2 separate regions of the Homo sapiens genome follow, and region 2 is linked to region 1. Evidence: promoter capture Hi-C in 16 types of primary human blood cells and fetal thymus (Javierre and others, 2016). All regions are on one chromosome and are shown on one strand. Each heading gives the region's core, a stretch centred on a gene start or on the middle of the fragment in contact. The rest is flanking DNA. Distances are from core to core; before and after follow the strand shown. Region 1 holds the start of CCDC85A (coiled-coil domain containing 85A). Region 2 has its middle 870 kb from the start of VRK2.

The links. Contacts are between HindIII fragments. The CHiCAGO score rates a contact against its expected background, and 5 or more counts as called.
Region 2: a fragment that was not itself captured here is called in contact with the fragment with the promoter of CCDC85A in region 1 in 1 of 17 cell types (endothelial precursors); the score reaches 5.2 in endothelial precursors.

Annotation. Positions count from the first base shown.
Region 1 is chr2:56,181,442-56,186,508 of GRCh38, forward strand. CCDC85A (coiled-coil domain containing 85A) reads left to right here and starts at 2,549. Exons shown (of 6, transcript NM_001080433.2): 1 at 2,549-3,459. The coding sequence starts at 3,184. LOC100129434 (a long non-coding RNA gene) reads right to left here and starts at 4,329. Exons shown (of 3, transcript NR_125368.1): 1 at 4,257-4,329. RefSeq lists a silencer at 2,219-2,548. The HindIII fragment of the contact is 6,654 bases long and covers 1,936-5,067 here.
Region 2 is chr2:57,178,841-57,183,907 of GRCh38, forward strand. No RefSeq gene overlaps it. Among named protein-coding and RNA genes, the nearest start is that of VRK2, 870 kb to the right of the region's middle. The HindIII fragment of the contact is 2,204 bases long and covers 1,899-4,102 here.

The sequences.
Region 1 (5,067 bases), core at 1,299-3,798:
TGTTATTACCTTCTTCCTGCCTTACACGTAGCTGGATGGCTAGAGTTCCACCAACCATGTTATGGACACGAGGCAATCATCCCAAAGGGGACTGAGCTGAGAGAAGGAGCCTAAGATTTTGACGACCTCATGAAGATACCATACCAGCCCTCAGCTGCCTCTCTTTAGAATACCAGGTAGGTGAGAAAAAATAAATGACTTTTTTAAAGTGACTGTTTTTTGAGTTTCTGTTTTTAGCAGTCAAATGAAGCTCCTGACACCATACATGACCTTAGCAACATGAAGCAACATTATTCATTCATGCAGATAATTATTATTCTGAATCAATGACCAAAATTAGAAACATGAAAACCTTAAGGTGATCTAGCTCAACTGTAATCCACTGCTAGTGTATATAATTTGTGGAGACTTTTTTTTTTTTTTTGGCTTTCCTTCTTCCTTGTCTTCCCAACACAAGTCTAATTTTTCCTCTCAGCCATCTCTCTGATTTCTCATATCTATTTGGTGTTAACTGATCAGAGGGAGTTAGCAGAGAAGGGGGCTGGCTGTTTCATTTTAGAATACGACTCTTGAAGAACCCGTGATGGAGGAATAAACAGAAGTCCTGGTTCCTATTTCTAGACAAGAGGCTGCCCAATGTAATATGTAATATCAGTAATAGTAAGGTTGCATTTCTGTAGGGTGGCTCGATCAAGCGCTTCTTGTATACCATATCATTAGCTGCCCGAGGGCCAGTAAGGTCGGATGGTTTGTTCAAGGACAAGAACTAACAAGTAACAGAGATAGGACTTATCTTTTTCTGACCTTCACTTTCCCTTTCTGTGACAAAACTGGTCTTAGGAACTGTGTTGAGCAGAGCCTTCTGTGGGCGTGAGAGCGGCTTGGAGGTGTCAAAGAAAAATTGCATCCGATATAGTTAAACAGACAAGGGGGAATTATTCAAGGCTATTGCAATAGGGAAGAGAGAGAGGGAGGGAGAGGGGAACTAGTAGAAGACTAGTGGAGGAGATTAGGATGGGAAGTTGGTCAGTGTAATGAGGCCATTTGTGTTTCCTAATTGGAACTTATTAAAGTTAGGCTCCTCCTCTCCACAAACACTAGGAGATAGGGACCCTTTTTTCCTTGATGATTACATTTCAAAGGGATGCCTCACAGATCCCTGAGAAAGATCCCCAGGCTGTAAAACCCAGCAAGAGGCGGAGAGATTTACATGTCAAAGGGTCAGAGGAAACATTCACCAATGGAAGTTGGCTAAAGTAAATGCTCTGAGAAAAGGAAGGTCTGGGGCCTACAGTTAGGAAGAAACCTGTCTAAAGTTTAGTTAAGCTGAGGGGAATGTTAAGGCCATTTGGTCACCGTAAGCAGTACCACATTTCCTTGCCTCTCCCGGGAGCCAGGTCTCAGTGTCCCCAATAGGGGACACGCACTGACCGGCGGGTGAAGGGACTGATTTTGATTATCATCCTACCAGATAGAGATTATTCCCTCTGCACCCGGGTTAACTGAAACCCGGTGGGGGTAGATCCTTGCCATTTTCCGGCCCTGTACCCCACTGGAAATAACATGCGGTGGTCAAGGGCATCCACCTCTTTAGGCAAAAGCATGTTTTCAGCCCAGAGACGATTCCACCCAACTTTACAAGAGGATAGCCCAAAGATAGAAGCCAGGGACTCAGACTTCCTCCTTCCAGAAATAACCATCATAAAAAAGCCGACCCAGTAAACGCCTGGCAGCCTGCGGCATAGAAGAAAATGGAAATCTCCTTGGCTGGCATTTCAGCTTGCCTGAGGGGGCTTGCTTTGCTCCGAGGGGAGGTGACTGTGCTGACCTTAAAATCCAGGTTTCAGGAAGCAGGAGATGAAGGTATTTTATTTTCGCCTAAAGGCTTTGATATTTTTCAAATAAAAATTTAAAAGATCCAGTACCTTCTCCCGAAGCTTCTTCATAGAGTAGTGGATTTTTAGAAAACACAAAGGCCTAGGGGTGGGGCGAGAGTGGGGGGTGGGGATGGGTAGCCCCATAAGAGCAGTGCCCTGACGCCTCTTTTCGCCCTTTTCAGACCATTTGGATTTTCTTAAGCTGCCCCTTTCCCCAACCCCCGTTTTTGCCATTTGCCTCTCCTCCCATTCTCCAAAGTGCAAATAACTGGTTATCCCTCAGGTCCTGCTACCCCATCTTTCCTGATCCCCGATCCCTCCAAATACGAAGCACCTCGCATTTGGGTCAGCAGCTGTTTCCCCTGCCTGGTGACAAGGCCGGTGTGCAGAGGGCAGAGGAGGGAGCTTCTTCCGCCACACGGTGGCGCGCGCGAGCCTCCCAAAGACCGGGCGGCCACAGCTCCTCACCTTCTCCCCATTCCAGCCCCACCCGCCCGGGCGCAGAAAGAGCCGCGCCCCCAGCCCTCCCGGGCAGGACAGCCGGGAGCGCACCTCGAGGGCCCGGGCAGCGGTCGAGTGGCAGCTGCGTCCAGCCCATGCGGGAGCTGCTGCGGGTTACGGGTGGCCCCAGCTCCAGGCTCCTCCTCCAGCCGGTCCCCCACCCTCCACCCCTTCTCGACTCCGCTCTGCAAATCGAAGGCTTTCCGGAGCAGCCTAGGAGCGGCCGCGGGCGCAGCGAAGGCGGCAGGAGGAGCGCAGCAGCCTTCGGGCAGCCGCGGCGGCGTCGCTAGAGCAGCCGGGGAGGCGCCGCGGTGCCCGGCGCGCCCTCCAAGCTAGGAGAGGGGAGAAGCCGGGGGCTGCAGCTGGGCAAGGGGGAGGAAAGTGCGTGTGCGTGCACGCCTGTGTGCAGGGCAGAGAGTGCGGGGGGCGACAGTCTCGGCTTAGGGCGGAGGAGAGGGCAGGGGAACGGCGGTGCAGCTCCCCCGCTGTCCCCGAGGATTTCCCGCGGCAGCCCCGGGCTCCCCAGTGCCCCTCACCATGGACTTGCGCGGAGTTGGGACGGGCCTCGGCAGCAGCAAGCGGCTGGCTGCCGGGCCCTGGGGGAGCGCGGGCGCGCGCGCGGGGATGGCGAGGTAGGATGGCCACCCAGCGCGACCCCCGCCGCCCCAACCCAGCGGCCCCTGGGCGGTGCCGCTGACTCGCCGGAGCGCACAGGGGTGTGGGCGGAGGCGGCCTCGCCGCGCCCGCGCCTTCGGGAGTCGCCTCGCCTCTTCCACCCACTTGCACCTGCCACCCCGCGGATACCATGTCGAAGGCGGCCGGAGGCGCGGCGGCGGCTGCGGCGGCGGCGGAAAGTTGTTCCCCAGCCCCGGCCGGCTCGTCCGCGGCCCCGCCCGCGCCGGTGGAGGACCTGTCCAAAGTGTCGGACGAGGAGCTGCTGCAGTGGAGCAAGGAGGAGCTGATCCGCAGCCTGCGGCGCGCCGAGGCGGAGAAGGTGAGCGCGATGCTGGACCACAGCAACCTCATCCGCGAGGTGAACCGCCGCCTGCAGCTGCACCTCGGCGAGATCCGCGGCCTCAAGGTGAGCGCGGGCCAGGTGGGGAGGCGCGGCGCGGCTGGGAGCGGGGTGCCCCGAGGAGGAGGCGGGGCCAGGCAAACTTTCCCTCCCTCCCTCAACAGGTGACCCTCCCCTTCTCCCGGTCGGCACCCCCTACCCCCAGTCCCCAGCCCCTGTGTAACTTTTCCAAACTTCGGAGGCGTCTGCTCCCCTCCTCTCCCCAACACGGGGCGCTCCACTGTCTGGCTGTTCGGGGAGGCGCTGAGGACGCTGGAAAGCAGGGAGGGAGGTGAAGGGCACGCGAACCTTTCATTTCTTAGGGAGGCTGGAAAATCTGTGCCTGGGGAGCCGGGTTTCAGTCAGTTAGGCGGAAAGGCCAGTGAGGGGGTGAATCCAGGGGATCTTCGCCTTGGAGGGTCGGGAATGCGGCTGCTCTGGGCCAGCAGCTCTTGGGCGGGCAGAGGGCGAGGAAAGGGCGCCACTGCCAGGGAGAGCGGCTGGCGGGGCGCCCGGGAGAAGCAGCGGGCGCCACCCTCAGAGCAGTCTTGTGTCACCGGGTACATAGGAGTTCAAGCTCTGCCTTCACGTCTTCTCCCAATTCCTGTGCTTTCCCTCTCCCGGAGTTTGGAAGGCATCCCCTGGAGTTGCCTTACTCCCCTTCCCACTTAACCCCAGGTTGACTGGGGGAAAGAGGAGGAGCAAAGAGACTCAGTATGGAAGGAGCAGCATTTTGACAGAGTACCCCAAGTGTTGGTCAGTGATGGTTTCTTTCTGAGCCAGCCCCCCTGCCACCCTCTTCTAGGAAAAGAAGGGAAACGTACCCCAAGCCCACTAACTTTCTTTTCTCCTTGGAGAGCGCCGGGTCTGCGAGGAGTGTGCCTGCCCAGCTGCAGTACACTAGTGGCCGGGAACCGCCCTGCTGGCGAGCACCACAAACTTCCTCTCCTTCCAGCTAGCGCTGGTGCCTCCTGGTATTCCTTCCTCTCATTGTTCTGCTTTGTTTGTAGGAAGCCAGACACAAACGAAATCACTGCAGGGACTTCAGGGAGCAAATTCCCGAAGGCACAAGCTGTTCTTTTCCCCTTTCCACTCCTATCCCCACATATCAGACAGTAGATGCTGTTCCGGAATTGCCTCAGTGCTCCAGCTCTGGGATTCTGGGGCAAGAAAGAGTGGGAAGAGTGGAATGCTCAAGGCTCACCTATGTGCTGGGCCCAGTTCAGGTGGAGATGGCCGTCTCCCGAGGCCGAAAGTCATTGTCATATAGTCCCTAGAGTGGGTGCAGGTAGGAAGATTCCTCCAGTCAGAAAAATGCCAAGGCTTACTCTCTCCTGTGGTTGAATTCATTACTAACAGAGTGTTTATTAAGTGCCAGTCTCTTTGGGGAATAGAGGCAGGCTAGTGTAGTAGGAAGATGATCTCAGAGGTGGGTTTGAATTCTAGAAACCTCATTTGCCAGGAGGGTGAGCTTGGGTAATTACTTTCTCAGATCCTCCTTTTATTCACCAATACAATGCAATGATAATAACTTTCTGAGGGTGTTATGGCAATAAGTTATGATTATGTAGGGGAAGGTTTAATACTTGACTATAAAATGGTAGTTACTGTCATCAGGAAAGGACTTACAAATCT
Region 2 (5,067 bases), core at 1,751-4,250, 1.0 Mb after region 1:
AGAGTAAGTGTATATATACTTATAGAGTACATGAGATGTTTTGATAAACCCATGCAATGTGAAATAATAACAACATGGAGACTGAGTATCTATCAATCACCTCAAGCATTTATTCTTTGTGTTACAATTCAGTGATACTCTTTTAGTTATTTTTCAAGGTACAATTAAGTTATTATTGACTATAGTCACCCTGTTGTGCTATCAAGTGGTAAGTCTTATTCATTTTATCTAACTATGTTTTTGTACCCATTAACCATCCCCACCTCCCTACCAGCCCCCCACTACCCTTCCCAGCCTCTGGTAACCATCCTTCTACTTGCTATGTTCATGAGTTCAATAGTTTTGATTTTTAGATTCCATAAATAAGTGAGAAAATACAGTGTTTGTCTTTCTATGCCTGGCTTATTTCACTTAACATAATGATCCCCAGTTCCTTCCATGCTGTTATAAATGACAGAATCTCATTCTTTTTTTATGGCTGAATAGTATACTCCCTTGTGTATATGTACCACATTTTCTTTATCCACTCATTTGCTGATGGACACGTAGGTTGCTTCCAAATCTTAGCTACTGTGAACAGTGCTACCACAAATATGAAATATATGGTATTCAACTGTTACATATTTTTTATTTAGTTATATTTGTATCTATAAAATTCAGATCCAAATATTCCTGTCTGTAATTAAGAAAGAGAACTGTGAGTAGTCAGGGCCAAAGAAGAAACTGTATTAAGAACAGAAAGGCTTTTGCAGATGGCTAAGCATAATTACCAGGTAGAAAAAGGGTCCAACAAGGCGTTCTAGTATGAAGGGTTAGCAACATGCAGCAAGAGCAGCATGTACAGAACAGATGCAGTTTCTCCTCTTCTGAGAGATAAAGCCTCTGGATGACCATGCTAGCAATGATGCACTGCCAACCAGTCATATGGAGGAAAACAGTAAAGAGATGACATTCCTTGAACAATCTTTGATGAATTACATGAAAACTGAGAAAGTGCCAAGAGAAAAGTAGGAAGTGCGAAGTAAGAAAAAATAAAAAAAAAAAAAAATAAAGACCTCTTAAATTGTCTGCTAACAATTGGAGACTTGTGGCTATTATTTACTTCAAATCCCAGGTCAGGGAGTAAATCAAGCTGTTTAACAGAAGACATGAAGAAACCGGTAACATACAGTTATAAAAGTAGAAGATATTAATAGCCATCATCAAAGCTAAAGGACTGTCATAAAGATGAGAGGTGAGATCAATCAGTACCCATCTTTCAGTCCATTCAAGGGACTTTCCTGCTCTGAGTGACGTAATTTGGAGGCCCTGAATATCTCAAATACACACAAAATAAATGTATTAAAGAATACTCAGACACACCGGTACAGCTCAACCCATAAACCACACATCTGTTCTTCTGACTGAGTCAGGCCTCTAGGAAGTTCCTTACCACATCTCTTGCTCTATATCTTCAAAACAAAGAACAACTGTTTTTGGAAGTTCTGAAGGTTTGGATTGTGCTACTAACTTTTTTTAGGGCACTATTTTGAACTATAAGGAGCTTTTCAGCTTTGGAAACACTTGGATGAAGGAAGAAAAAAAAAATTAACTTGTGAATCCTTCTTTCCAATAGCAAGGAAGCGATACATTCTTGAGTAATGAAGCATGTTTTGCCAGTCACACCATGCATTTGTTTCCTCCACGCTTCTCTTATTGTTCCAGTTTAGGATCTAAGAGATAATAATCACAATAAAAAATTTGATTTATTTTATACAATAAGATGCAGTTTTAAAAAAGGTAAAACAAGAGGTGATCTTCAAATGGAGGGTGAATTGTGGTCTTAGACAAAAACTAAAAGTGAATTTATATTTTCCACATTATTGAGTATAAACTAATTTACCTTTAATATCAGTGAAAGCTTAGCAAAAAAATGCTAACAGATCTGAATGATTTCACTATTAAAATGATTACAGTATTTTTAAAATTTTAGAGAAATTTGTTTCCTAAATAGATACAACATGTGGAAAAAAAGATAGATACAACATGTGGAAAAAAAGATAGATACAACATGTGGAAAAAAGGGAATACAAATATTATTCCAATAAAAATAAGATAATTAGAACAAGAAAATCAACACAATTTCTATGACTATGAAAGATAAGATTCATGAACATATAAGCTCAACACTTATTTCTATAGGGAATAACACTGGCAATTATAGATCAAAGTATATAAAGAAAACAAATTTGGCAACATATGCTATTTCCATTTTTTTAATACTATGTTACCATTGAAACATTTGAAAGAAGAATGGAAACAATAATCTATGAAACTAGATATTGTTTTAAGTGATGGTGAAAACTGCAATCTGAGATAGCAATTTATAAAATGAAATTACAGTATTTTGTAATATTTTCTGTGATGACACTTTAATATTTGTCACCTCATCACAAAATTTGAACAATACTATTTCAATTCTTTGGTTTACACCTTAATCTAACTGCCAATTTAAGAATTTTATGGACGATTGTAATGGCTATTGTCTCAGTGGGCTAAAATTTTCTATATTGAAACTACAAAAGTAAAATAACTAGAGCTATAATAACTCAGAGCTGTTGTAGGCTGAGAGTGGTGACAGGGATTATCTACAAAGAGGCATGAGGGAATTTCTGGATGATGAAAATATCTAACAACTGCATTGCTTTGGTGACTGCATGACTATAAACATTTGTCAAATTCATCAACTGTACACTTAAGAAGGGTGAACATCATTATATGGAAATTATACCTCAAAAAGTTGACTTTTAAAAACAATAAAACATTTGTTCTTTAAATGCTGGCAATATATCATTATTCCAACAAATTATTTCAAAATAATTTGTTTTTAAAAGTTGTCTAATTTGGCATTACTCTCAACAGAAGAAAATGTGTTATTCTGATTATAACAACATAGTTGTTAATGTTGATAAAAATGTAAGTTAAGATTGCATAAACATAATTTGTGACTCATGTCAGTCTTAATGTATTAGTCATCCAAATGCCACTGACTCAGAAAATAATCAGACATGCATAATAAAATTATATTTATTTACAATTTATATTTTACCAACTTTCCTTCTCTGGAAATTGTAGCTTAATACATACATTTCAATATTTCCACTACACAGAATATTTTTAGCCACTTTAATGAGGTATAGTTGACAGAGAAAAGGCTGTAGATAGATATACATATACATAGATAGATATACAATGTATACAACTTGATGTGTTTGAAGATAAGTATACACCCAGGAAATCATCACCACAATTTATGCTATAGACTTATTTATCACTTCTAAAAGTTTTTTCCTGCCATTTTTAGTTATTATTATAATAATTACATTTTTCTTTCTGTGGTAGGAGCACTTAACCTAAGATTAACCCTTTTTAGAAAATATTTAAGTGTGTGATACAGTTTTGTTAACTGTATGCTCTACAGTGTACAGTAGATCTCCAGAACTTATCTTGCATAACTGAAACTGTGTACCCTTGAAAATCCCCCCCATTACCCCTTCCCCAATTCCTTGGCAACCACCATTCTACTTTCTGCTTCTATGTATTTGAATACTTGGGATACCACATACAAGCAAGATGATTCAGTATTTATCCAGAACAGAAAAATAGAAGATTTTTTGTATTAGTTATGTTAGCTTGATTTTAACTTTTAGACAAAGGGTATGTTGCCATCTCTTCTCTTGACACAGGTCCCACAAATGTTAGAGGTGTATCTGAGACTCTCTGAATCTATGAACCTCTGCATTTATCTATTTTAACTTATAGGGAGGTTCCAACATAAAAAAGAATAAGCTAGCCATTAGTGCTGCCCCCAACCAGAGTGAACAGACTTTTTAAAAGGCTGTGCATGCTATGAAACTAGAGGATTCAAATCCGAGTTCAACAGTTGTGACAGAAGGATAACCTGGATGAGATTCCCTGCATTCTTAAAATAACTCTGGTAAGTGATGGTAAGCATTAAGGGTAATATAATTTTTAAATACCAAACTGCCTTTTAATTACATTAATATTTACTATACATTGAATACTAGATTCTGTGTTAAGCATTTCTTAGGTAATTCATTTAAGCTTTACAGATTTTGAGATGGATACCATGTGTTTCATTTTGCAGACAATGAAGCCCAACCTGAGAGAAATTAAATACTTTTATCAGGATTAGCCTCCCAGGATATGGCAGAGTTTGGATTTCAATCCTGGTCTATGAGTCTTCAGCAACCATGGTATTATTCCTTACACAACTGCCTTTAATTTATGTCTCATTTTTAAAAGAATGTTTTCTCTGGAAGAAGTTGTAACAGCTGCTTTCATTGTCCTACCATATCCCCTCAGCACTCACCCTTTCTGTAAACACCAGCCCACTTTCCAGCACACCTTCCCACATCTAGCCAGAATCTGGACCCATGTGTTCAAATAACAGGGTTTCCTTAGAAAATTGATCTGCTGATTAATGGAAAATTGTAAAGGGTTCTAAAAAGTGTAGGAAAATATTACCTTACAGTCAAGGTAATTAACACTGGATAGATTGATAAAACTAGTTTTTAATAAAATTTTAACATTAAAGATGCACCAACACAAACATGAAATTTGATTTTCTCTTTTGAAAAATAATTTTATGTAATATCGAGAGACAATTAAACATTTTTATTAGCCTTTTGAGTAAACTACAATAAAAGACAGGGTGGGGAGAGAGAGAAGACAGATTCACTTGACCTCATGCTGTCTTTATTGGGTCTTTATTAGAAAGCTGATTCTCTCCTCTCTTAGTGAGTATGAGATTTTGCATTTTTAAAATATTCGAGTAATCATTCTGGCTAAATGAATGACTGATAGTGACCTGAAGTTCTGTTTTGTGATATCCAGTGTTTCAAACCTTTGATATTTGACAAGTCTTCCAAGATCAAATTCTAAATTAAAAAAAAGGTAAAATTTAGGTCCCCTAAAGTGCAAAAAAGACATATTCAGCTTATTTAATATATTAAAATCATATAGGAAACACTGTCTGATATAAAATGGTGTTTAACTTTCTCTGGA